Regions from separate parts of the Homo sapiens genome. Here regions 2, 3, 4 and 5 are each linked to region 1. The links are contacts of gene promoters, found by promoter capture Hi-C in human tissues and cell types (Jung and others, 2019). All regions are on one chromosome and are shown on one strand. Each heading gives the region's core, a stretch centred on a gene start or on the middle of the fragment in contact. The rest is flanking DNA. Distances are from core to core; before and after follow the strand shown. Region 1 holds the start of AK8 (adenylate kinase 8). Region 2 holds the start of LOC124902292 (a long non-coding RNA gene). Region 3 overlaps TTF1 (transcription termination factor 1). Region 4 overlaps CFAP77 (cilia and flagella associated protein 77). Region 5 overlaps CFAP77 (cilia and flagella associated protein 77).

Region 1 (5,122 bases), core at 927-3,426:
GTGGGGCAGGGAAAGAGCACCGAGCCATGAGAAGTCTTGGTTCCAGCCCCACTGTATCTCATCAGCAAGTCCCTTCCCTTCTCTGGGCCTCAGCTTCTCTGCCTGTTCAGTAGCACAGCTGGAGTGAATTCATGTTTGTATGTCACTGGTGCGATGATGGAATGAGATGATTTTAGATGGTTCACACATAAATATTTTACATTTCATGTTTAAATCATTGTGTATTTAACGTGTATTAGAAATATAAGTACATCAAATCAATAATTTCAAGGATATCACTTAGGATGAGGCAAAAGCGGCTATTTAATTTTTTAAAAGGTGAGTTGATTTAAACAAGTGATTAGTTTAAATGGAGGTGCAGTAGCGGTTATGCAAATCTGTACATGTGATACAACTGCACAGAACTGTATGCACAACAAAAACATCAATGCAGGTAAAAATGGAGGAAATCCAAACAAGGCCTACAGTTCAGGTAATCCTATTGTACCAATGCCAGTTTCCTGGTTTTGACAATGTGCTACAGTTATGTTAGATGTTATCACGGGGGCAATGTGGGAGGGGAGACCAGAAATCCATACTATTTTTTAACTTCCTGTGAATCTAACATTATTTTAAAATCAAAAGTATAAAAAATGGAAATGGTCAAAAACATGGAGGGAATCCACAGATGACTAAGGACTGGAAATACTGGACTGAAAGCTTTCTTGTTGGGAGGCCGAGGCAGAAGGACTGTTTGAGCCCAGGAGTTCAAGACCAGTCCGGGCAACATAGCAAGACCTCGTCTGTACTAAAATTAAAAAAAAAACATTAGCCAGGTATGGTGGCCTGCACCTGTAGTCTCGGCTACTCTGGAGGGACTAAGGCAGAAGGATTGCTTGAGCCCAGGAGTTCAAGGCTGCAGTAAGCCATGATTGTATCACTGCACTCCAGCCTGGGCAGCAGTGCAAGACCCTGTTTCAAAATCAATAAAAGCTTTCCTGGGCAATTCCTCCAACAATCAATGTGGAAAACACACCAGGTTCTCTAGAGCAGACAACAGGGCTCCAGATGATCCCCCATCCTGCCCTGACCTGCTGACTTCTAACCCAGCTAGCTATTTGATTTGTGATTGGCCACTCAAGCAGTTTTAGGAATCTCTTGCTCTCCCTCTATCAGTTAACACTTTCCGAGGGAAATGTGTTTGATGGAGGTGCAGACACGGGTTTCTTCGTCTGGGCTCAGCTGTCTAGTGTGCAGGGCAGAACCTCAAATGACCACAGACACCACTATGCCCTCCATGCCATGCCCCTGGGGATGGGGTGTACCCTGGGAAGCAGACAAATGATCTGAAAACTGAGCTCCAGCTTCCCCTTGCCTCTCAGAACCTTTGAGTGGCTGAGAGTTCTTCCCCTCCAGCTCCTGAAAGCCTTGACCTCCACCACGTGCAAAAGGGAAAACTGGGGCCCTGGCGGGGACGGGGCCTCGCCCAAAGTCACACGGTGAGCTGGGGGCCCAGTCAGGCCTGGAGCCAGAATGAGAGCTTCGGAGCTGCCGGGGACGTCTGGCCCTGAGGAGGAGGGACCAAGGTGGGAGATGCTGCTGTCCCAGAGGCGGCCCTCTCTGAGGATGGAGATGCCAGCTTGAACTCGGACAATGCCCACCTCAGAAACCTGGGCCGAGAGGCTCCCCACAAATTCGACAGATGGTAATTGTCAGCGCCGGGAGAGCCCCTGGGAGACCACCTCTTGCAACCTGGCATTTCACAGGTGGGGAAACCGAGAAAAGGAAAGGACTGGTTCCAGACCATAAGGCCCGCTGGCGGCACAGCCAGGACCAAATCCCGGCTCGAGTGGCCCCCTTCCTCCCCCTGGGTCCGCCTGAGGCAAACCCGGGCAGGACCAGGAGCGTCCCCAGCTCGAGGGCCCCCTCGGGGTCACGGCGACACACGAATCGTACATCCCGAGTTGGGCTGCTTCGTGGGCGCGCGACTCGGCCCCAGCTGCGGGTCCCGGCCGCGCACCCGACGTCGCAGTGGAGGCTCCCGAGCCGCCGCCAGCGTCGCGACGGGCAGGGGTGTCCGGTCACCTGCATCAACTCGAAGATGTGGTTCTCCTCCCCGTACTGGGGCATCTCGGGGGGGATACGGTGCGGGGCGATAGTGGCGTCCATGTAGCCGTCTCGGCTCGCCGCTCCCTAGTAACCGCGTCGCTAGGGCCGCCGCGCCGACTGCGTCATCAGCACGCGCCGCGGCCCCGCCCTGCAGGCTCCGCGCCGGGCCCAGATACCCGATCCTCGGTCGCGCGGGTCGCCCCCGCCCCGACCTCCCCGGCTGACGCGCTCTGCGGCTCGGGCAAGTTCTTTCCCCAACCCCGGCCTCGCTTTTCCCATTTGCGCATCTTAGCGGGGGACACCCTCAGGTGGCTTCCAGCTGGGCCTCCTCGTATCTGAGACCCCCGACGAAACCCAGAAGGGGCAAGTCGGCCCTCCGAGGGGACGGGAGGCAGAACCTGCTTCTGGTTCTGTCAGTGCTCCCCGGCCCGGCTCCCTGTGCCTCAGTTTACCCATCTTTAAAACAGACGCGGGAATAAATGTGGGGGAGGGTGTTTGAAGGGGGAGGGGCGTCCATGAGATGGGCCGGAGGTTCGAGGATCGGGTGGAAATCCTCAGCCCAACTCCTAGAGTCGAGCCCCGGTAGACCCCTCCCAGCTCCCCGGCTCTGGCCAAGCCGCCAAGTGACCCGATTGCTATGGCACCGGCGGTAACAATCACGCCCGCGGCCCCGCCCCTTCTCGCCCGACGTCCCCACCCACCCTCGCCTCCCAAGTCCTGGAACGGGCCTCCCCACCCTCCGGGGCACCGACACTCACGGAGTCACTCCAACTTCTCTGGGTGCTCCGTGGAGCGAAGAGCGCTCTAGGACAAGCAAGGGTAAACAGGGATGAGTGTGGGTGGGCCCACTCGGACCCCACCCCGGCCTCTGGGTCAGAAACTGGAAGCTGGGGTGGAGGATGGAAAGATGGAGGGGTCCGGAGGATGGAGGGGCCTGCACAGCTGTCTCGGGGTGGGGGCGAGGGGAAGGTTCGCGCTGGAGACGGAGCTTTTTAAGTCGTATGAATTCCCAGTGGTACGGGGCAGCTTGATATTTTATTAGTCGCAACACTGAATTGGGATCTCTAGCTCTTGTCTGTTGCCGTTAATCGTAGGAGCTGTAAGAGTTTGTTGAACTCTTTGTGCTCTCGGCAAAATTCTGTTGTCTCTGTACCTTATGGAGAGGGAAAATGGCACAGTCAATGCAGACAGCCCCAGCTTCAAGTTCTGGCTCCGCTTCTTACTGTGTGAGCTTGGCAAACTCTCTGCTTGCTCCGTGCCTCACTTTCCTGCCCTGTGAAGAGGGAACTGCTGAAGGATTTCAGGAGCTAATGTATTGGAGAGTAATTGGCATGCAGTAAGCACACAATATATGGGGCTACTATTAGTAGTAGTATCTCATTTAATCGTTCCAACAATCCTGTGAAATAGGCACCTTCATTCCCATTTTACAGATGAGAAGTTGGAGGATTAGAACAATGAGGAGTGGTTGGCTGGGTAACTTTGGGTGAGTCACTTCCCCTTTCTGGGCTTCTTTTCTCATCAGTTGTTGATCATACAGCCTTAGAACCAGAAGGCCTCTTGAAGAAGAGGCTAATCCAAACTCTCTCATTTGACAGATGGATAAACTGAGGCCCAGAAAAGGGGGAAATCTTGGCTAGGGCCACTGGTTAGATTGGGCAGAGCCAGGGCATGAACTCTGCATCCAGGCTCCAGCTAAAGCCCTTTTCTACCAGCCATCAGCCCAGAGACATGCCCTCCCAACGTAAAAGCCAGCACTGTTGCCTCTTCCCCTCCAAACCGCTTCCTCAAAGTGTGTACACCTTGGTAGGCTTGTCAAACCCAACTGTAAAGATAGCTGGGGAAGAAAAGGAAGCTGCCTCCCCCTGAGCAAAGAACACAACAGCCATGCCTGCCATTTGCACTGGAGAGGTTTGTTTTGCTTCCTGGACATTTCTGAAATGACTTGCCTTTCTCCTCATTTATTTTAAGCCCTAGGCGCTTTTCCTACCATGATTCAATCTTCTTTAGCAGCCTGGAAAAATACAAATCAATTAAAGCCTAAAACCTATGGGTAATCATTTTTTTCCTCCCTCCTCCCCCAGATCGAGAAGTGCCCGTCCCCTGTGCCCTTCATCCACACTAATTTGGCTGCAGTGGCTCTCGTTCAAGGGACGATCACTTCGGATAGCTTATTACAGCTCCTCTCATGACATTCCTGGCGTGCATGTCACAAGTTGCTAGGATCAAGAACAGAGTCAGTTCCTCTCAACCACTACCAACCACAGCTCCCACCATGATGAGGGAAAAGCCAGGCCGAAAGGGCACACGCCCTTTCTCCCTGGAACTCCACCTATGTGCTCTCTCTCACTTTTCTGGAGCTTCACCTTTGAGTCATTTGTAAGCCCTGGGCCAACATTAGGGCAAGGCAAGTGATGCACCCTCAGCACAAAACTTAAGGGAGTGCCGGCAATTCAATCATTGAGGTGGATGTTTTTCACGTTTTAATGCAATATATTTTAAAAATCAAAAATAATGCTGCCTAAAATCCATTTAGAATAACATGTCAAAAATTTAAGTAAAGGTAGGCTCAGTGTTACTGATTTCTCCTTTTGCCTCAGGCCTCAGTATGGCAAGGTGCAGCTATCTTTTTTTTTTTTTTTTTTGAGATGGAGTCTTGCTCTGTCGCCCAGGCTGGAGTGCAGTGGCGCCATCTCGGCTCACTGCAAGCTCCGCCTCCCAGGTTCACGCCATTCTCCTGCCTCAGCCTCCCGAGTAGCTGGGACTACAGGCGCCCGCCACCGTGCCCGGCTAACTTTTTTTGTATTTTTATTACAGACAGGGTTTCACCGTGTTGGCCAGGATGGTCTCAATCTCCTGACTTCGTGATCCACCCACCTCGGCCTCCCAAAGTGCTGGGATTACAGGCGTGAGCTACCGCGCCCAGCCAGCAATCTTTTCTTTACAAATTCTGATGTTGCCAGCTCATGCTTCTAATCCCAGCACATTGGGAGGCTGAGGTGGGAGGATCGCTGGAGCCCAGGAGTTCGAGACC
Region 2 (5,122 bases), core at 1,382-3,881, 510 kb before region 1:
TCTGGGGCCAGCACATCCTGGAGAAAGAAAAACTGGGGCACAGATAACGATGGCCTAAAGCCACACGTGCCCAGTCCATGTAGGCCATAACCCAGGGAAAACCCATCCTCATTATAGTCGTTATAATAAAATTTACATGTGGTTTTGCCTCTCTGAGTGGGCTTTTCTTAATGAATTATGGGTAAAAACATGCGCAGTTTAACTTCAGGGATATAACCATAAACTGCCAATCAAATGATATCATCCTGTCACTCAAACACAGCCCAAGCCTCAACTCCTCCAACAAACCCCATAAAAGCACCTTGATTTTTGTAAAGAGGGGCTGATTTTACTTCCCAGAAATGAGCCTGCTCTCCCTCAGAGTGTTTTACTGTGTTGCAATAAATCTTGCTGTAAGCTTGCATTTCAGTGTTAGTTTGCCTTTTTTTTTTTTTTTTGAGATGGAGTCTCGCTCTGTCGCTCGGGCTAGAGTGCAGTGGCGCAATCTGCCTCAGCCTCCCGAGTAGCTGGGACTACAGGCGCCCGCCACCATGCCCGGCTAATTTTTTTGTATTTTTAGTAGAGATGGGGTTTCACCGTGTTTGCCAGGATGGTCTCGATCTCCTGACCTCGTGATCCATCTGCCTTGGCCTCCCAAAGTGCTGGGATTACAGGTGTGAGCCCAGCCTAGTTTGCAATTCTTTGCTCACTATCACAAGAACTGAGATTGCTGGTCCAGAGCTCCAGCTCTGTTGATCTTGGTTAAAGAATCCATTCCAACACAGGATGCCCGGTAACAATACCACTGGCAGAGATGAGGAAGCCCGGGGGACAAGTGACAGATTTTGAGATGGGTGTCAGCAATTAGAAAGTTATTTGTGCTGGGCGCGGTGGCTCACGCCTGTAACCCCAGCACTTTGGGAGGCCGAGGCAGGCGGATCACCTGAGGTCGGGAGTTCGAGACCAGCCTGACCAACATGCAGAAACCCCGTCTCTACTAAAAATACAGAATTAGGCAGGTGTGGTGGCACATGCCTGTAATCCCAGCTACTTGAGAGGCTGAGGCAGGAGAATTGCTTGAACCCGGGAGGAGGAAGTTGCGGTGAGCCAAGATCACATCATTGCGCTCTAGCCCAGGCAACAAGAGCAAAACTCCATCTAAAAAGAAAGAAAGAAAGAAAGAAAGTTATTTGTAATATAATAGATTTCAGGTGTAATACCTGAGTGGAGATAGTGAGTAGGCAGATGAATTTTTTTATCCTGGAGTTCGGGGGAGAATCTGACCTGTAACTATACACTTGGGAGGAGGGATCAGCATATACACATTATTTCAAGGCATGGAGAGAATGTGAAGAAGCCCAAAATTGAGCTCTGAGGAACACTAACTTTTCAATGTTGAGTGCAGCGGGAGGAGTGTAGCAGAAACTAATTGAGTCCATATATATATACATATATACACACATATTTTAAATTAAGATGAGTTACACTAGAGCCTGTTTGTATGGTGTTAATGGTCCAGAACAGAAGGCTGACAATTTAGGAGAAGGATCAACAAAATATCAAAATCTCAGAAAATGCAGGTGGTAGCCAGGCACTCACACCTTGTAATCTCAACACTGGGAGGCAGAGGTGGGAGGATCACTTGAGCCCGGGAGTTCAAGACCAGCCTGGGCAACATACGGAGACCATGTCGCTACACAAAAATAAAAAATAAAAATTAGCTGGTGTGGTAGCACATGCCTGCTGTTGTCCCAGCTACATGGGAGGCTGAGGTGGGAGGATTGCTTGAGGCCGGGAGGTCAAAGTTGCAATCAGTCGTGATGGTGCACTCCAGCCTGGGCAACACAGTGAGACCCTGTCTCTTTAAAAAAAAAAGGAAAAAAAAAGCAGGGGGATGGGCTGCAGGAGCTTAGGTGTAGGGATCGGCGTAAGTGTGGCTGGAGGTAGGTTTGTCTGCTTGGTGGAGGGAGGAGGGAGCTTATGTCTTATGGCTTCACTTTCCTAAGTGGATTATACATGAGGCAGAAAGGGAGTGTGAGAGGGCTGACTGTGCACGTGAGCTGATGTGGGGAAAAGCAAAGCAAGCCTACTAGAGATTCAGAGTAGCATCCTTTGGTAACATTGTGTCCGTTTGAGCTTTATCATCATTAAAGTGAAATCTGCCAGCTCAGTTGTAATTTTCTTCTGGGAATATTCAGCTCTTCAGGTGCAGGTAACAGGCAAAGGGAAGGGCTCACCCAGATCTGGTGTCTTAAACAGGGAAGTGCCTCAGGGGGAGAGAATGCCAGGATGGAGGGTGTTCAGGAAGGTGATTGTGGCAAGGGACCATGTGACAGCCTGGGTAAGCTGGGAGTGACCTGATAGCACCGAGGGAGGCTGAGAATGCCTGCTCATGTATTTCAGGAAATAAACAGGAAATGGTGTTCAGGAAGTGCTGGACTGTGTAGCCTCCAAGAAAGCAGGCCCCAAGGCTGTACTGTCAATGCTTGTTTTTTGTTTTTTTTTTTTTGAGACGGAGTCTCTGCCGCCCAGGCTGGAGTGCAGTGGCGGTATCTCGGCTCACTGCAACCTCTGCCTCCTGGGTTCAAGTGATTCTCCTGCCTCAGCCTCCCGAGTAGCTGGGATTACAGGCACGCACCACCAGGCCCAGCTAATTTTTGTATTTTTAGTAGAGATGGGGTTTCACCATGTTGGTCAGGCTCGTCTCGAACTCTTGACCTCCCGATCCTCCCGCCTCGGCCTCCCAAAGTGCTGGGATTACAGGCGTAAGCCACTGTGCCTGGCCTGTCAATGCTTGTCTTTTTAGCTCCTAACAGTACCTGGCTCACTGCACGTGTTCACCAATGTTTGTTGAGCTGCACTTGTCAAAGTGAAGGTGGTGCTATGAAGTCAGTGGATGTCTTGGTCTGGCTAAGATGCTAATTTCTGACCTACTTGGTATCTGCCATGCTGGGCCACTTTGTTGGGTAATGAAGTCCATCAGTGAAGACAAACAGCTGAAACACATGACTAGGGACAAGGACAAAATGACCAAGAACTGAGCCAAGAACTCGAATAATGCATAGTCAAGGCTGTTTAAAAACAATTTTATGGGCCAGGTGCTGTGGCTCACGCCTGTAATCCCAGCTACTCTCAGGAGGCTGAGGCAGGAGAATTGCTTGAACCCGGGAGGCGGAGGTTGTAGTGAGCCGAGATCACACCACTGCACTCCCGCCTGGGTGACAGAGACTCTGTCTCCAAAAAACAAACAAAAACAAAACCAATTGTACATGTTCCACAGCCTTAGTTCTTGTGAGGTGGGTATTGTCTTTCTCTTTTTACCTTTGTTCGCTTTCTGAGTCACTTTCTTTAGTAAAAGGTGAGATTTATAGGATCTGAAACCAGAACATTGACTCACTTTTTTTTTGAGACAGTCTCACTCTGTCGCCAGGCTGGAGTGCAGTGGCGTGATCTCGGCTCACTGGAACCTCCGCCTCCCAGGTTCAAGTTATTTTCCCACCTCAGCCTCCTGGGCAGCTGAGACTACAGGCGCAGACCACCACACCCGGCTAATTTTTGGTAGAGATGGGTTTTCACTATGTTGGCCAGGCTGGTCTCGAACTCCTGGCCTTGAGTGATCCACCCACCTCAGCCTCCCAAAGTGCTGGGATTACAGGCATAAGCCACCATTGCCCAGCCTCTGTTAATTTTTTTTTTTTTTTTTTGACACAGGGTCTCTGTCACCCAGGCTGGAGTGCAGTGGTGTGATCTCAGCTCACTGCAACCTCTGCCTCCCAGGTTCAAGCGATTCTCTTACCTCAGCCTCTCAAGTAGCTGGAATTACAGACACACGCCACCATGCCCAGCTAATTTTTTTTTGTTTGTTTTTTTTTTTTGGTAGGGATGGAGTTTCATCATGTTGGCCAGGCTGGTCTCAAACTCCTGACCTCAAGTCATCCGCCTGCCTTGGCCTCACAAAGTGCTAGGATTACAGGTGTGAGCCACTATGCCCGGCCTCTTCAGGCTTTGATGTATCTTACCAAATTGCCCTCCAAAAGGAACATAAAATTTATATTAAGTTCTTCTCCATTTGAAATATCTCGGGTGGTTTTGCTTTCCTGATTGATGGAATAGCCCACCATTGAAATTATCTTTGAATATCCAACAGGAGTTGTGTGTTGACACTGACACATTTTTTTTTCTTTTCTTTTTTTTTAGGAGTCTGGTCTGTCTCTGTTGCCCAGGCTGGAGTACATGGTACCATCATAGCTCACTGCAGCCTCAAACTCCTGAGCTCAAGTGATCCTCCCACCTCAGCCTCCTGAGTAGCTGAGACTATCGGCTGCACTACCACACCTGGATAGCACCTTTCGATAAGTATAACAGAGTGTCCCCTCCCCTCCTCTCCCTCCACCCCTCCCTCCTTCCCTTCCTTCCTTCCTTTTTACAGAGACAAGTTCTCACTATGTTGCCAGGCTGGTCTCGAACTCCTGGGCTCAAGTGATACTCCTGCCTTGGCCTCTCAAAGTGCTGGGATTAGACGTGAGCCACTGTGCCTGGCCTAAGTCAGTATTTCTACAAGCAATGGAAGAGATTGCTGATTTTTGTTTGTTTTCAGTTAAATACCAGGTAAGTTCAATGACTTGCTTTGACAGGACATCTTATATGAAAAATACCTATCTTTGAACACTAGAATCAAACTCAGGAAGTTGAGCTATGTACACTATGATAGGTACAAGGGAAAGAGACCGGTTTGAGAGAACAGTGGATTCACAACTTCCATCTAACACGAATGTGATCCATATATACATGGAGAGCAGACATCTAAACAACTGGAAACACAGCAGAAGGGCATGCTTTTTCGAAATTGTTACCTTTCTCATTTTCGCTCAGTACCCATATAGCTGAACTCACGTAATGAAATGTTCATAGAATGTGACCCTATTCTCTGCTACAATTAGAGGGATTTGTGAAACTTTTGTCATTTAATAAAACCATTAGTTGTAATTATTTATTAAATCAATTCATATGTTCCTCTCTTTTCACATTCAAATACGTTTTAATAGGAATGGCAATATATTTTAATGCTCCAGAGGAAAGAGTAGAACTCTGGCCATTGTACATTCTTTATTAAACATCAATACTGAAAACAGATTTACTGACA
Region 3 (5,122 bases), core at 1,260-3,759, 480 kb before region 1:
CTAGCACCGCTGGGTTAGGGTCTCCCGGACCGAGCTGGTCTCAGCAAACACATATATTAAAGTACTAAGAAAAGCACTATAATATTATAAATGGATTTTAAGATTAAACACCTAAATATTTAAATAAATAAAAAGCAATCTTTATAACATCTTCAGATTCCTATCTGAGTAGGAATGGTGGTTTATGTCATCACTAAGAAGTCCTAAAAAATACAATTTCTTTTTTTTTTTTTCTTTGAGACAGGGTCTGGCTCTGTCACCCAGGCTGGAGCACAGTGGCATGATCATGGCTCACTGCAACCTCCACCTCCTGGGATCAAGCGATCCTCCCACCTCAGCCTCCCAAGTAGCTGGGACTACAGGTGCATACCAGGCTAATTTTTGTATTTTTTGTAGAGCCACGTTGCCCAGGCTGGTCTCAAACTCCTAATCCAGTGATCCGCCTGCCTCAGCCTCCCAAAGTGCTGGGATTACAGGCATGAGCCACCGCACCCAGCCAAAAACAAACAATAACATCGGAGCATTTTCAGACATTTGTCTGTAAATGCAGCGTATGGTGAATAGAAACTGGTTATTCTTCACTATTTTTTTTTTTGAGGCGGAGTCTTGCTGTGTTTCCCAGGCTGGAGTGCAGTGGCGCAATCTCGGTTCACAGCAACCTCTGCCTCACAGGTTCAAGCAATCTTCCTGCCTCAGCCTCCCAAGTAGCTGGGATTATAAGCGTTTGCCACCACGCCAGGCTAATTTTTGTATTTTTAGTAGAGATAAGGTTTCACCATGTTGGCCAGTCTGGTCTCGAACTCCTGACCTCAAGTGATCCGCCCACCTCAGCCTCTCAAAGTGCTGGGAATTATAGGTGTGAGCCACTGTGCCTGGCCTACTTTTCACTATTAAGAATCATGGCTGTAAGCCAGGTGTGGTGGCTCAAGCCTGCAATCCCAGCACTTTGGGAGGCTGAGGCAGGAGGATCACTTGAGGTCAGGAATTTGAGACCAGCCTGGTCAACATGGTGAAAGCTCATCTCCACTAAAAATATAAAAATTAGCTGGGTGTGGTGGCACACGCCTGCAGTCCCAGCCTCTTGGGAGGCTGAGGCAGGAGAATCGCTTGAACCCAGGAGGTGGAGGTTCCAATGAGCCGAGTTCGCACCACTGCACTCCAGTCTGGGTGACAGAGGGAGACCCTGTTCCAAAAAAAAAAAAAAAATTGCCAGGCACGGTGTCTCACCCCTGTAATCCCAGCACCGTGGGAGGCTGAGGCAGGTGGATCGCCTGAGGTCAGGAGTTCCAGACCAGTCTGACCAATATGGTGAAACCCCGTCTCTACGAAAAATACAAAAATTAGCCGGGCGTGGTGGTGGGTGCCTGTAGTCCCAGCTACCCGGGAGGCTGAGACAGGAGAATTGCTTGAACCTGGGAGGCGGAGGTTGCAGTGAGCCAAGATTGCGCCATTGCACTCCAGCCTGGGCGACAGACTGAGACTCCATTTCAAAAAAAGAAAAAAACAACAAAAAATCAACAACAAAAATTAAAAATTAAAATAATAATAATTCTTTGATTTTTTACTTTCTATTTTTTTGAAGTCAGGAATTGCTTGCTATAAAAATATTCTAAGGGTAAATGATCACCACAACACAAATAATACAGCACAAAGAGATGAACTGTTAGATTTTTAGAATGACTCTAAAAATTACTCTAAAAATTTCATTCCTGTGTGTGTGTCACAGGTGGAAATATATTACCTCAGCTGCCACCATTAACCTGCCAAAAGCATTCTTGTAAGTCCCATTTAAAATGTTACCTTTAGTGGATTTTCTTAAAAGTTCTGTTCACAATTGTCTAACCTCAGGATTGGGGAAAAACAGGCAGGGCAGGTCTCAGTCTGTGTGTGAACTTTCCTCACCTAAGGCTGATTTATTTCTGTAAAAATTTTAAAAAGGAAACCGAGGTCATATCAACGTTGGAAGTTTAAGTAATGACCTATGTCTCAGTTTACAATCACAGAGCTAAGCAGAACTCAACTGCCGCTGCCAGAAGATTTATGAAAGCTGCCTCTCAGAGAGAGGTCAAGCAGCTGAGTAGAAGGTAGTTTTCGGGGGCCGTGGAATCCGAGCTAACACCTTCCTGCTTCTCCTTCTGTCCCTGAGCAGAGTGCTAACGTGCTAACCCAAACGCTCGGTCTACGTTTGGTTTGTTTTTAAATGTGTTGGAAACAAATTATAATCCGATATTGTATTTGGGGAAAAGGAAGGAGAGAATGACAACCGGGTTAAGCACCCCAGGTTGATACCACTGAACTGCATTTAAGGGACCTAATCCCAGCACTTACCTCCACCTTCAAATAGTTACTAAAAACCCACAGCACTCTGCTAAGTGCTGAATGGAACATGTGTCGAGATGGGATGTTTGGGTTCACAAGGAGCTTATGACGTAAGCAGAGAGCAGAGTAAACAGGAGTCACAGCACATGAAGCAGCATATGGGGAGTGCTAAAGAAAAAGTGTAGAGAAAGCTGCAGATGCAGGAAACAGAAGGTCACCACAGCTTCACTAAAGAGGTGGGGATGGAAAAGGCCATGAAGACACACATTTGACAACAAATACACCACCTGGTTTCACACACACAAATCTGCGTTATCTTTACTGCTAATCCACTGCTGTGAATATTTTGATTTATGGTATCAGCAAAGACTAGAGAAATGTTGTCTCAAGCTGCTAAGACTTTTTTCTTACCTGCCTTTGTAATTGTTGACATCGAACATCTTCTTTGCTCGATAGTATATAAGTTTCCAGGGCCGGGCAATGTTCCTACCTAAAGTCAGAAGAAAGGTGATCAGAGGGACTCACATGAAATGAAGTCGCAATTGTAAAAGGAACCCAGAACAGCCCTTATAACAACATGAACTATCCTAAGCCCCGTGTTAAGGCTGGGATTTCCTACGTCCTGAAGAAAGCTGTCTTGTTTTTTTTGTTTGTTTTTTTTTTTTTGAGAGAGTCTCACTCTGTCACTGAGGCTGGAGTGCAGTGGCACTGTGTCGGCTCACTGCAACCTCCATCTCTTGGGTTCAAGCAATTCTCCTGCCTCAGCCTCCCGAGTAGCTGGGATTACAGGTGTCCACCGCCACGCCCAGCTGGTTTTTATATTTTTAGTAGGGACGGGGTTTCACTAAATGAAACCAGGCTGTTTCATTTGGTGAAGGCTGCTTCACCAAATGAACCAGCTGGCCAGGTTCATTTGGTGGCCAGGCTGGTCTTGAACTCCTGACCTCAGGTGATCCGCCCTCCTCGGCCTCCCAGAGTGCTGGGATTACAGGCATGAGCCACCGCGCCCGGCCTAAGAAAGCTGTCTTGAAGAGCAGATACACACAATCACCAGTTTCCTTGGAGATCTCCGAAAACTAAATGCTTAGTACCCTGAGGCTTCAGCTTCCGGTCTATGCAATTTGTGGAAAGAATCCTTAAGAGGCAAAGTAGTTTTAAGATAATGTGAATTAAGAGGAAGAGAACACTGCGGTGGAGAATACAGGGTAACAGTTTTCCAGAAGATGAACAATAATCTTTCCCAAATCAGCTTTTCTCACTTTCTCACTCTAAGGGGAAATAATCCCTCAACGGGGGCGTACTAGCCTGCTTTTCTTCGTGGATTCCACACAACACCTAAGAAATTATCCTCTTTAAATTCAAGAGAGATTTGCTTTCGCTCTGATCCCATATGACAGCATGACCTTCTAACTTCACAGGCAGCACCTCCAGTCGGAGGGTTCCAGTTACAAAGCACACATATGGCCACACTTAAAAAACACGGGAGACCATGGTGCGTATAAGGATGTGCTTTGTGTAGCGTACACAAAATATAAATAAGGAACAGGAGGAGAAACCAAAACCACAACTATTGCCAAGGAAGAAAGGTAAAAGTTGATCATTTAATTTTTCACCCTAAACTTGGGAGACATGAACACATTCCAAATCCCAGAAAGTACAGACTGGCAATAAGAATACCATCAGGGCTGGGCGCGGTGGCTCACGCCTGTAATCCCAGCACTTTGGGAGGCCGAGGCAGGCGGATCACGAGGTCAGGAGTTCGAGACCATCCTGGCTAACAAGGTGAAACCCCGTCTCTACTAAAAATACAAAAAATTAGCTGGGCGTGGTGGTGGGCACCTGTAGTCCCAGCTACTCAGGAGGCTGAGGCAGGAAAATCACTTGAACCCCAGAGGTGGAGGTTGCAGTGAGCCAAGATTGCACCACTGCACTCCAGCCTGGGCAACAGAACAAGACTCCGTCTCAAAAAAAAAAAAAAGAATATCATCAGCCATCACAGCAGTTAATGTGCGCCGCCTGCAGGCAATGGGCCAGGTACCGTGCTAACACTTACCATGGGTTATCTTGTTTATGGCTGGAAGGCTGTGGATGGTCAAAGGGTGATTGTTTCTAAACTTACCAATGTGTAATCTAAACGAGTATCTCCTTTTTAAGTTGGTGATCACAGATTTTTCCTCAGGATATCTGTCCGTGTACAGCAGCTTGTCTGCACTCTCAATGCCTGTCAGGGCTAGAAAGTCTTCCACATTTTTCTCTAACTGCTTATTTTCCTTTACAGAAAACTTGCCAAATTTAATAGCGACACCTAGAATTGGGAAGGAACAGGGAGAAAGTGTGTATTGTTAATAATGACAAAAGCAAACCTATGACTTGGTTTTTCATCAGCAATGACAGTACCTCGGCCCAACAGTCCCAACACCTGACATTCGCCCTCCTGCCCGCACTTGCAGATTTGGCCTTTCCTTCAGGGTTCAGCCCAAGCCACACCTCTTCTGTCAATGTCTTCCCGGGTCATCCTATTCCAAAGTGACCTTTCCTGTTTAATCTATCTTTTTAAAAAATAGTTTTCAAATTTATTTATGCATTCTTTAGAGATAGGGTCTTGCTTTTTCACCCAGGCTGGAGTGCAGTGGCATGATCAAAGTCCACTGCAACCTTGAACTCCTGGGCTCAAGTGATTCTCCTGCCTCAGCCTCCCGAGTAGCTGGGACTACAGGTGTGTGTGACACCTGGCTAATTTTTTATTTTTTGTAAGACGGGGTCTTGCTGTTTTGCCCAGACTGGTCTTAAACTCCAGGCCTCA
Region 4 (5,122 bases), core at 1,522-4,021, 400 kb before region 1:
CATCATTTCAGACAAAAACTTTTAACTGTTTTGTTGTTCCAATAGAGATGATTTAGGACAAGGAGACTTTCATTATCTGCTGGCTGCATTAACCGAGCCTGAGGTCTTCCAGCGAGAAGAAACTGCATTTTAAACTTTCCAGCAAATGTGAGGCCCTCCTTTGCAGTTTATTCCCTAACCTTTAAAATGAGAGTTTTCTGATATTCTGAAAAGGGCAGTTGGATTCCCCAGGTATCTGGAAGAGCCCAGCCTGGGTATCATGCATCTTGGGAAATAGACACTGGGCCTGAGCAGATGTTGAATTCTTGCTTTCTATGGCTGCATCTACCACTAGGCCCCTTCGCTAAGGCTGGTCTGCAGTTGGGAGCGTTACAGAACCCAGGCTGGTTCCAGGCCACAGTCTCCCTGCTGAGGGGATGCAGAGCCCACTTTGGGACTGAGCCGATAATCGTCTCTGAATTGCCTTCGTTTTTGCCAGTCTTGAATGCCTCAGTCAAGGGGTAAATCCACAGGAGTTAGGCAGGGAGAAGTGTCTCGGTTAGGAGCAGGAAGAACAAAGAAGCCACATGAAATTGGGCTGGCAGCTTTCCCTACATCCAATCAGCTTTGAAGATATTTGGGTCTGAAGAGCTCAAGCATCTTGCATTTGCCACAGAGGCCTGAGCATTGCTCTCCTAGTTCAGACTCTTGTCACCTCCACCTGGAGTGCAGAACCAGACTCCTGGGTACCCCCACCCTCTGCTTTCTCCTCTACCCCATCCTGTGCGCACTGGTAGTAGTCCAGCTTTCCCAAACTGCAGTACTGATCCTACCATGGCCATGGAACCACAACCATCCCTGGCTCCCTATTACCTCTCAAAGAAGATAGCCTGGCACAGCCTGGCCCCATGACTCACCTTCCGTCTGGTCTGCTGGATCATTTGCCGCTGCCTGCATTTCTGTCCAGGCTTTTCTGCCATCTTGGCCTGCTCTGTGAAATCCTGCACCATAGCTCTGCATTCAGCATTCCAAGTCTTTCTCGAATGCCACCTCTTCTGGGAGGTCTGGCCCGAGCCTGGCAGGCAGATGAGCTTGCTTCTCAGAGTTCTCGTGGCCTGTAAGACTTCCCTTGTGGCGTTCCTCTATGCCCAGCTGTTCTGTAAGTGTCTATCCTCTGCTTGGTCCTGGGGTTGGTTGCTTCCAGGAACACCCTCAAGATTGACTATCAGAAAAGTCTAACTCAACCCTTACTCACTGTGTCCCATACCGCATGCTCTGAGAAACCTTCCCCTAGTGACCCACCCTCCTCTTGTGGGGCTGGATGGTGAGCTGTCTTCAGTCTCTGGGTCCCCAGAACTTTGCTTATGTCTGTCTTCAAGCTCTGATCTTCCATCTCCCCACAAGCTGTAATAGGGGCACACAGGTGGTGTCTGTCTGAGCAGATGGGTGTAGCTCATCTAGATGCAGTGCTTGGTACTGGGATGGTTCCCACGAGGTGCTGGGTAATGAGTGCTGTGACCTTACTTGGAAATAGGGTCTTTGCAGAGGTGATCAAGTTAAGGCTCTCAAGATGATACCATACTGGATGTAGGGTGGGCCCTAAACCCAATGACTGGTGTTCTGACAAGAGAAAGGGGAGGGAGATTTGAGGCACAGAGACACACAGGGGAGAAGGCCATGTGGAAACAGAGGCAGAGATTGGAGTGATACAGCCACAAGCCAAGGAGCACCGCAGACTGCCAGCAACCACCAGCAGCCGGGAGAGAGGCCTGGAATGAGTCCCCCCTCGGAGCCCCAGAAGGAACCACTGCTGCTAACACCTTCATTTCAGACTTCTGGCTTCCGGAGCGGTGAGATTTCTGCTGCCTTCAGCCACCAAGGTGGTGGCGATTTGCTGCAGCAGCCACAAGAAACGGATACAGAGGCGATGGTTTGGGGCCAGGAATGCATGATCAGGTCTTCCCAGCCGCTGGTGCTGTGACGCCAACCTCCTCTGGTCTTGGGGCTGCCGGAGCTGCAAGCAGCCTCGTACATCTGCCTGTGTGTCTCGTGCCAGGCTGACTGGTTTCTCTGTGTGCCAGGATGCTCAGAAGCCTGGGAGGCACCAACAGTGGGGCCAGGATGAGGGACACCTAGTTGATTACTGAGCTCTGCCTCTGGCGATTAGCAAGGTGACCCTGGGCACATGTCACCTCTCTGACTAATCTGTAAACCCGGCACAAGAGTAGACCTGCTTCACAGGTCATAACGACGAGCCTTCTGTTCATTCATTCAGCAAAGATGCATTGAGCACCTACTACGTGCCAAGAACTACAGGCCCTGGAGACAGCGCAGTGAGCAAACCAGCCACCAAACCCCATCCCACAGAGCTTGTTTTAGGGAGAAGAGAAAGATGATGACCCAAATTCATCAGTAGAATACATAGCGAGTTGTTGATTGGTGCTACAAAGAAACACAAAGCCAGGCAGGGGTGCAGTTCCCAGTGGGAGGTCGGGTCAGGAAGGGTCAGGGGTCAGCAGGGGTCAAGCGCCTAGCCTTGGGCAAGGCATTGGGCACATAGTAATTGCTCAGCACACATGAGCTGTCTGCACTCCAGGCTGGGGGCCTCTTCCATTTCTCCCCACAGGATGCTCTTGCCTTCTCTTGCCCTGCATTGGGTTCCAGTGCTGCCTCCTGGCTCCCTTTCTTGAGCATCTGAATGCCAAGGCAGGTGTCTAGGGGGTGAGTAGGGAACTGGGCCAAACTCTGATGGAGATGTGGGAGGCCGTAGGCTCAGACGGGCAGCCTAGGAGTCCAGACCCTCTGAGTCTGGACCAGCATTCACGAGGGAGGAGCCACTGAGACAACCAATCTGGGGGCAGCGGGGCCCTGCCACAGCTGCCTGCTCTCTCAGTCATTCTACTTGCTTTTGTTTAGAAGATGAGAAAGTCCAAATGTTTGCAATTTCTTTGAAAACTAAGACAGGAGATTAAGGAGTCAGTGTGGTGGAATTTTTTTTTCCTTCTCGTCTACCCAACCTAACCAGGTGATATGGTTTGGCTCTGTGTCCCCACCCAAATCTCATGTGGAATTGTAATCCCCACATGTTGAAGATGGGGCCTGGTGGGAGGTGACTCGATCATGGGGGGTGGTTTCTGCCCCATGCGCCTCTTCCCTTTGCTGATTTTAGCCTGTAGCTTTTTACTATCATAAACCATAACCGTGAGTACAGTGGCTTTTCTGAGTTCTGTGGGTCCTTCTGGCAAATTCCTGAAGCTGAGGGTGGTGTTGGGGAGTCCTGAATGGCAGCCAAGCCTCAGCCTCTGCTTACCCTGCACGAGGCTCACAGGTGAAGACGCGGCACTGGTTCCCCCCATTTGTTCTGTCAGTGCCAGTGGCTCCGGGTGTGCATTCAACCCTCCAGACTTCAGAGGCTGTACTCGCCGAGAACAGGAGCAAGTTCCTCTAATAATCAGCCTCCCCCTTGGCTTTTATTACTTTGGGCAAAATAAAATTTGCTCCCAAGTAAGCAAAAGCTCCCTGACAGCCCTGTCGGCGTGAGGTGTCCTATTTGAAAAGATATAAGAGGCCAGGGACAAAAAACGCGAGGCTTCTCCAAGGCAGATGGGGCCCGGCGTGGGCTGGAGGTGACGAGGAGGGGACTCAGAATCTAATGAAGAGGAGAGGGCTGGGGCCGGAGATGCTCATCTCAGCCTAGCCCTTTAAAACCAAAATGATGGAGTTCATTTGCATTTAGATCTCCTTGGCTCCCTCTTTTCATCTAAAGACAAATCCTCACAAAAGGCTGCTTAATTAGACCAAATTAGATTTCCGCTCTGCAGCTTGTCATTCATTACAGAATGCTGTTCTTTTTCTATTTTGGTAATTATAGGCTGGTCTATAAACCAGTTTGTAAGCATTCACTCCAGCCATTGAATATGACTAGCATTCCTGATTTTGTGCAGAGAGGAGGAAAATTATTCAGTTGCACCAAATCTGTCTATTTTATAAGTTGGATCAAGACCATCGCTGGAGTCTTTTACAATAATGGGTATTCTCACTCCTAATTCTTTAATGATTAATTGTAGGAGCAGCACAGGGCTTGGTAATTTTCAAGACTAAAAGCTAAGTACAAATAGATTTTCGCATGTAGCAATTATGCCACATACTCAGAATCTTTACCTTAGTGATGCAACCCCATGGCATCTAAGAAGCCACCCATTAAAGCATTTACAGCACAACCCCTCATGCCCAGCTCACAGTGCTCAGCCATCTTTTGCCCTGGGTACCCTCAGGGAGCTCAGACCTTTTCCCCCATAGTTCATCCCACCATTGTTCATCCTACCATCGTGCATCCCATCCTCCCAACCACAGAACCACAGAGTTTCCAGTTTTCAGTTTCAGATACAGACACAGCTGGGTGGGTGCATGGGGGAGGGCCTTGGGGGGCTGGGCCTGGTTTGGTTGAGCCAAGGTCCTCCTTGTGGCGTTCTTGAAATACTCTTCATTCATCCAACCTGCTGCAGCGCATTGAACCTGCTGATCCAATCACCTCCCACCAGTGATGCTCCTCCGAGTGGCTGGAGGGATGTGCTGCAGAGCCATGGCCTGAGTTCCCTCCAAGGATGGCCCCGTTGGCTTTGCTCAGGCCATCCTGGTTGAAAGCGTGTGGGCAGGTGGGCCGAGCTGGCCACCAGGGACAGATGTTGCTGATGGAGTTTGGACACGTAGCATCAACTCCCTCTAATAATAGTGGCCACATTTTCCTACTGCAGATATTTAGAATGGCCTACTACGTGAGAGGCAGTGAATATTCTCATCTGACACCAAGCCTATGAATTGGGTGGTGTCCAGAGACAGGCTCAAGGGTGAGGTCCTTGGCCAAAGTGACGCGGCTATCAAGCAGGAGAGTGGCAGTGGAACCCAGGTGAGGCTGGCTCTGAGCTCTCCACTGTGCGCCTCTGCCTCCCTGAGCAGGAGAAGCAGATGATGCGGCTCTGGATGACACGGATGGAGACGCGCTCCAGATAGGAAATGGCAGAGCTGGTGGGGGGGACCCTGAAAATCAACCGGCTCAGCCCCCTCATTTTGCAGATGGGACCACTGAGGCCAGAGAAGAGGAGAGGGGGCCTCCTCGGCTGCTCTCCTGGACCGCCCTCCCCAG
Region 5 (5,122 bases), core at 928-3,427, 320 kb before region 1:
GATGGGGCTTTCAAAGGGAAATGTGCAGTTGGAGACCGCCTCTGTCTGTTAAACAGCCCTAAGGCTTATGAACTTCTGTCTTAGTCAGGCTGCTCTAACAAAATCCCATAGACTGGGGAGCTTAAACAGATGTTTATTTCTCCTAGATCTGGAGACTATAAGTCCAAGGTCAGGGTGCCAGCATGATCAGGTTCTGGTGAGGGTCCTCTTCCTGGCTTATAGCCAAGGCACCTTCTCACCGAGTCCTCACTTGCTGGAGAGAGAGAGAGGAAGCACACACTCTGGTGTCTCTTCTTATAAGGACGCTAATCCTATCATGGGGGCCCCACCCTCACGATCCCATTTAAACCTAATCAACTCCCCAAGAGCCTTATCTCCAATGCCATCACACTGGGGGTCAGGGATTCACATACGCTTTTTGTTGGCTGAGCATGGTGGCTCCCACTTGTAATCCCAGCACTTTGCGAGGCTGAGGTGGGAGGATCATTTGAGGCCAGGAGTTCAAGACCAGCCTGGGCAACTAAGTGAGACTCTGTCTCTACAAACAAACAAACAAACAAACAAACACCATATGCGAATTTTGGGTGGACACATTCAGTCCATAGCAAGCTCTTTTTCAAGTGCAGTGGAAATCTGCCTTCTACCTTCCACCTCCTTGTTGTGTTTCTTGCTTCTTGATCCCCATGGAATCACCTTCTCTCCCTTCCACATGACAGCCCTGCAAATTCCCAAAGTCAGATACCATTTCTTCATAGACAACCAGGGTCTCGATTGCACCCCAGGGCAGAGTTCTGAATGTTGGAAGGGGGAACCCCACGTTGCAACAACAGTGGACGGCCTAGGCTCCACGGTCTCCACCAGTCCATGCTGCATTCTCTACCTTTATCCACATGCATGGAAGATTTGTCAAGCTGCACTGCATTTCTATATATTTTTAAATAAAATTGTGACTGAAACTGTCTATCAACGCCACTTGAATCACTTAATACAAGAACCTCCGTGAAAATTCCCTGCTGGAGGGCAATTTCAGGAAGAAGCTTAGTCGGATTCGTGTATACTAATAGTAGTAATAACAGTACAAGCCACCATGTCTTCAATGCCTACACTGTGTGCCAGGCACCATTCCAGGGGCTTGGCAATGACCCCACGGGATGGGTAGTATGACCCTTACTTTGCAGGTGAGAAACTGAGGCCCCTGGTCACACAGCTGGAAAGCGATAGGACCAGGATTGGAACTGAGCTCTGTGGAACTCAAAGCCCTATGTCCCTAATCATCGAGTGCACTGTCATGCCTTCTGTTGTGGAAAAAACATGCTCGACGTGATGGAATGTGCTCCGTTTGGCTTCATGTGGCAGAAATTGAGCAAGGGTTAGAATCTGTTTAAACCAGGGGCCTGAGAGTTGCTACACTTTTCTTCAGACTATGCTTTATGCAACCCTTATTTTTATTTTATTTATTTTTTTTTTTGAGACAGGCTCTCACTCTGTCACCCAGGCTGGAGCACAGTGGCACAATCACAGCCTCAACTTCCTAGGCTCAGGTGATCCCCCACCTCAGCCTCCCAAGTAGTTGGGACTACAGGTGCACACCACCATGCCCGGCTAATTTTTTTTATGTTTTGTAGAGATGGGGTTTTACCATATTGCCTAGGCTGGTCTTGAACTCCTGGGCTCAAGAGATCTGCCCGCCTTGGCCTCCCAAAGTGTTAGGATCACAGGCATGAGCCACTATGCCCAGCCCTTAAATACCTTGTTTCACCTTGCGTGCAATCCGCCAGATACCTTCAAATCACTTGGAAGGAGACAGGGTACAACTACTGAAGAAAGTAAAACACTTCTTCCACTTAGAGTTTAAGCTGAGCAAAGCAGAGATCTTCAGGGTGCCTGAATCTTGGATGCATTCCTAAGGGCTGTGTTGCCTCATCCCCAGACTCCTGACCCACTCATCTGTCCATCCGTCCATCCATCTGTCCATTCATTCATCTATCCAACCATCTATCTATCCATCCATCTATGCATGCATGCATGCATCCATCCATCCACCCATCCATCCATCCATCCATCCATCCATCCATCCATCCATCCATCCATCCTCAGCCATCTGTCCATCTGTTTGTTCATCCAACCATCCAGCCAAGATTTGTTTGGTGTCTACTGGGTGCCTCTAAAAGTAGAGTTACCCCAAGACATTTGAAGGCCTCCTGTCTGCGGACATTTCCCTAGAACCATGCCCACAATATGGCATTAACATCTTTGCTATCTAGCTGAGGACACTTAGCTCTAATAGTCCTATTTGTGACTTGTCAGGCTTAGCCTCGTCAACCACAGAAAGGTTCTGCTCCTTCTTAAAAGATACCAGAAAAAAATCCTTCCTGGTCATTATTCCAATAAGATAAAAGGGGAATAACAACACCAAACCTCGTTGCAGTACACTCCACCCCGATGGGCCGAGGACACCAAACATCTGAGTGTGTCCCCAGCTTCCCTGGCAGTAACTCAGAAGTTGTTCAACAGCCTATATTAATGAGCAATAAAGTACTGACGGGCACTGCATGGACGGCTCAGCAAAGGACTTAATTTGCAACCGAGCACAAAATCAAAGACTGTCAACCGAGGAACCATGTGGCTGGATAAGCACCTTGTGCTACCTGAGAAAGCACTGTCAGGTAAATTTCCAGAGAAAGTAATTAAGGAATCCCCATTGTCTAAATTCAGCAGTAAAATTTGGAGCTCTGGAATTTGATGCTCACCAGGGAGCTGGTGTCTCCTCCCAGCCCAATCCTTCATCAGAATGAAGAGTGGAGGCTTAGGAAGGGATCAGCTGACGTGCCTCCCGCCCTTTCCCTAACACACCCCCCAGCCCTGTGTGGTCCTGCATGTGTTGTCTTGTCAGAGAAGCAGAAAGCAGCAAATGAGATCTCCGCGTTGTGAGATGGGGGTGAGATTAATATACAAACATATAGACCTGAGATCTGGCAAGTGCCAATTAATATTTATCAAGCACCCACGGCGTACACGATACCGAGAATCAACATGCAAAACATACAGTCCCTGGCATCAGGCAATCTCCACTCCGAGTCACACTCAGGTTCCGCGCACAGATAGATGATCCGTGTGCTTGGAGGCACCTGCCCCGGTGGGAGAACCCACCAGGAGTTTAAGTTAATATTGATACAAGCGCCCTCTTCATACTGAGACAATGTAGGATTCTCAAGCAGGCATCGTCAGCACCCTGGCCTCCACTGGGGGAACCCTGATGAGACACTACCCCAGATCTCTAGGGGCCGTCCCATTCACAAAGACACCTCAGCAGGGCCTCCGTCGACACAGTCCCTTCACTAACTTCTTCTTAGTCTTCACGATAAAAGAAAAAGTCCTCCTCCCCACTGAAGATCAGGCTCTGCTGTGACCTCCCCTGTCCTGATATTTCTAAGCGGGGGTGGGCAGGTTGTGGCAGGACCCCTCCAGAAGAAAGAGCTGAGCAGCCTCCCATCATCTGGGTTCTGCAAAGAAGGGAGGACCCCCTCCCCGGCGGCTCAGCTTGTCAGGGCCTTTGTTGACAACCCCATTGAAAGCGGCCTCACTGTCTTTGTGAAGTTTCCTCCATCTCCCATTCACTCCTTTCTCAGGCAGTTTTTGAAAGGTGAAAAGTCTGGAAAACACACACACACTCTCTCCCACCCCACCCCCCGAGCCCCATCACACAGAGGGAGAGGGGGGTGGCAGCTTGGGGGAGCCGGGCTGACGAGCCCCTCACCTGGCCCCGCGGTGCACCGCCTCCAATTAAATCAAAATGGTTTGTTTTTAATGGTCTTTTACACTGACAAGTGGGCGATCATTTTGGGCCCACGAGCTGTCAGGGAACTGAGGCAAATCCTCCGTTGATAATGCCCAATGCTTCCAATTAGGAGCCGAGGCCGCTCCTGGCGCGCTAACGATTCCCCAGCCAGCCCCCAGGCCCCTTTGGCGCTGGCTGTTTCTTCCGCCTCCTCCACCGCAAATTACTGACACAAAACGGAAGGCCCCGCGTCTCCTTCGCCACGCCAGGCCCGGGCCCTGTTGGGTTTAATGAGCCGATGGAAGTTTCGTGGCTCCGGCGCTAAATTCTTTTCTTGTTTGACAGCTGCTCGGCTAAGGCAAGTGTTGACCTTATAAAAGATTTAGTGTTTCTCATTATTTTCTGTCAAGCTTCACAAGCGATGGCGCGGCGGTTATCATTTGCATCCTGGGGTGTGTGTGTGCAGGGTGTGTGTTGGGTGCGTGTGTTGGACAGGGGCTCCAAGGTGCAGACGGGAAACGGGAAGGGGTCTTTCCCTCTCCCCAAGTTGTCCCTGGCCCCTGCACAGCAGCTGCCAGCGTGAGGTTCTTGCTGGGCCCAGGTGTTTCAAAGAGAAGGCAAGATGCAAGTCCAAGGTGATGGATGCTTCCACGGCTTCCCGGCCTCCCGGTGGAACCAGAGCCACCGCCGTGGGGGCACGGGAGGAAGCCCAGTGCGCACCGAAGTCGGTCGACTCTCAGAGCCTGCTGGGCCCAGCACAGCCAGGGATGAGCGCTGGGCAGCAGGACAGTCCCAGCCAGACTCAAGGCTGAGGACGGTTTTAGGGTCAAGCTCAAGATTTAATCAGGGACCTCACTCTTGCCTCAAAACCCTGGTTAAGGCAGTTTCCCAAAAGCTTCCTCCTTTTGCTCTACACCTGGAGAACCGATTTTTTCCAAGTGGCTGGCATTATTCTCCCCAAGCTGACTATGGGAACTTTGTCAGTCCTTACTTTGTTCTGGCACCCCATGCAAATCGAGGCCACTTGGTAACTCACAAGGCTGCCGGGAGTCCATGCGGCACCTTCCCCAGCCCCTACCGGCCTCCTCATTTCTTTTCTTTCCATCTCTGCATCCTCCCCTTGCTCCAACCTACCTGCTGGCTACCCCAGGAACGGGTGACCTGAGGTTGCATAAAGAGTGACAGAGTCAAGGGCAGAGGAACGTGTAGATGTCTCCTCCCCCGGTTCTGAGTTTATAAGCATCACTGATACCATGGGAGACTCCATGTTGATCTTTTAGAGTGAAAACCTGGCACTCCACCTCCCTCCCGTGCCCACGGCAGACCTTACTAATCAATCGTTGT

Evidence for each region. Contacts are between HindIII fragments. The study calls those that stand out against the background at their distance.
Region 2: a fragment that was not itself captured here is called in contact with the fragment with the promoter of AK8 in region 1 in 1 of the 25 tissues and cell types used here (aorta).
Region 3: a fragment that was not itself captured here is called in contact with the fragment with the promoter of AK8 in region 1 in 1 of the 25 tissues and cell types used here (dorsolateral prefrontal cortex).
Region 4: a contact is called between a fragment that was not itself captured here and the fragment with the promoter of AK8 in region 1, in 2 of the 25 tissues and cell types used here (liver and mesenchymal stem cells).
Region 5: a fragment that was not itself captured here is called in contact with the fragment with the promoter of AK8 in region 1 in 1 of the 25 tissues and cell types used here (lymphoblastoid cells).

What each region holds. Positions count from the first base shown.
Region 1 is chr9:132,876,108-132,881,229 of GRCh38, forward strand. AK8 (adenylate kinase 8) reads right to left here and starts at 2,177. Exons shown (of 13, transcript NM_152572.3): 1 at 2,065-2,177. The coding sequence starts at 2,148. SPACA9 (sperm acrosome associated 9) reads left to right here and starts at 2,791. Exons shown (of 4, transcript NM_001316897.2): 1 at 2,791-2,907. The HindIII fragment of the contact is 8,008 bases long and covers 83-5,122 here.
Region 2 is chr9:132,370,551-132,375,672 of GRCh38, forward strand. It overlaps TTF1 (transcription termination factor 1), which reads right to left. Exons shown (of 11, transcript NM_007344.4): 11 at 4,998-5,122. LOC124902292 (a long non-coding RNA gene) reads left to right here and starts at 4,249. Exons shown (of 3, transcript XR_007061828.1): 1 at 4,249-4,335; 2 at 4,434-4,587; 3 at 4,691-5,110. RefSeq lists an enhancer at 2,192-2,486. The HindIII fragment of the contact is 6,869 bases long and covers 1-5,122 here.
Region 3 is chr9:132,393,703-132,398,824 of GRCh38, forward strand. TTF1 (transcription termination factor 1) reads right to left here. Exons shown (of 11, transcript NM_007344.4): 4 at 4,439-4,624; 5 at 2,731-2,809. Among named protein-coding and RNA genes, the nearest start is that of TTF1, 11 kb to the right of the region's middle. The HindIII fragment of the contact is 8,735 bases long and covers 1-5,122 here.
Region 4 is chr9:132,475,055-132,480,176 of GRCh38, forward strand. The region is part of intron 1 of CFAP77 (cilia and flagella associated protein 77); the gene reads left to right. Among named protein-coding and RNA genes, the nearest start is that of CFAP77, 67 kb to the left of the region's middle. The HindIII fragment of the contact is 6,160 bases long and covers 1-5,122 here.
Region 5 is chr9:132,552,897-132,558,018 of GRCh38, forward strand. The region is part of intron 5 of CFAP77 (cilia and flagella associated protein 77); the gene reads left to right. Among named protein-coding and RNA genes, the nearest start is that of BARHL1, 27 kb to the right of the region's middle. The HindIII fragment of the contact is 4,506 bases long and covers 1-4,430 here.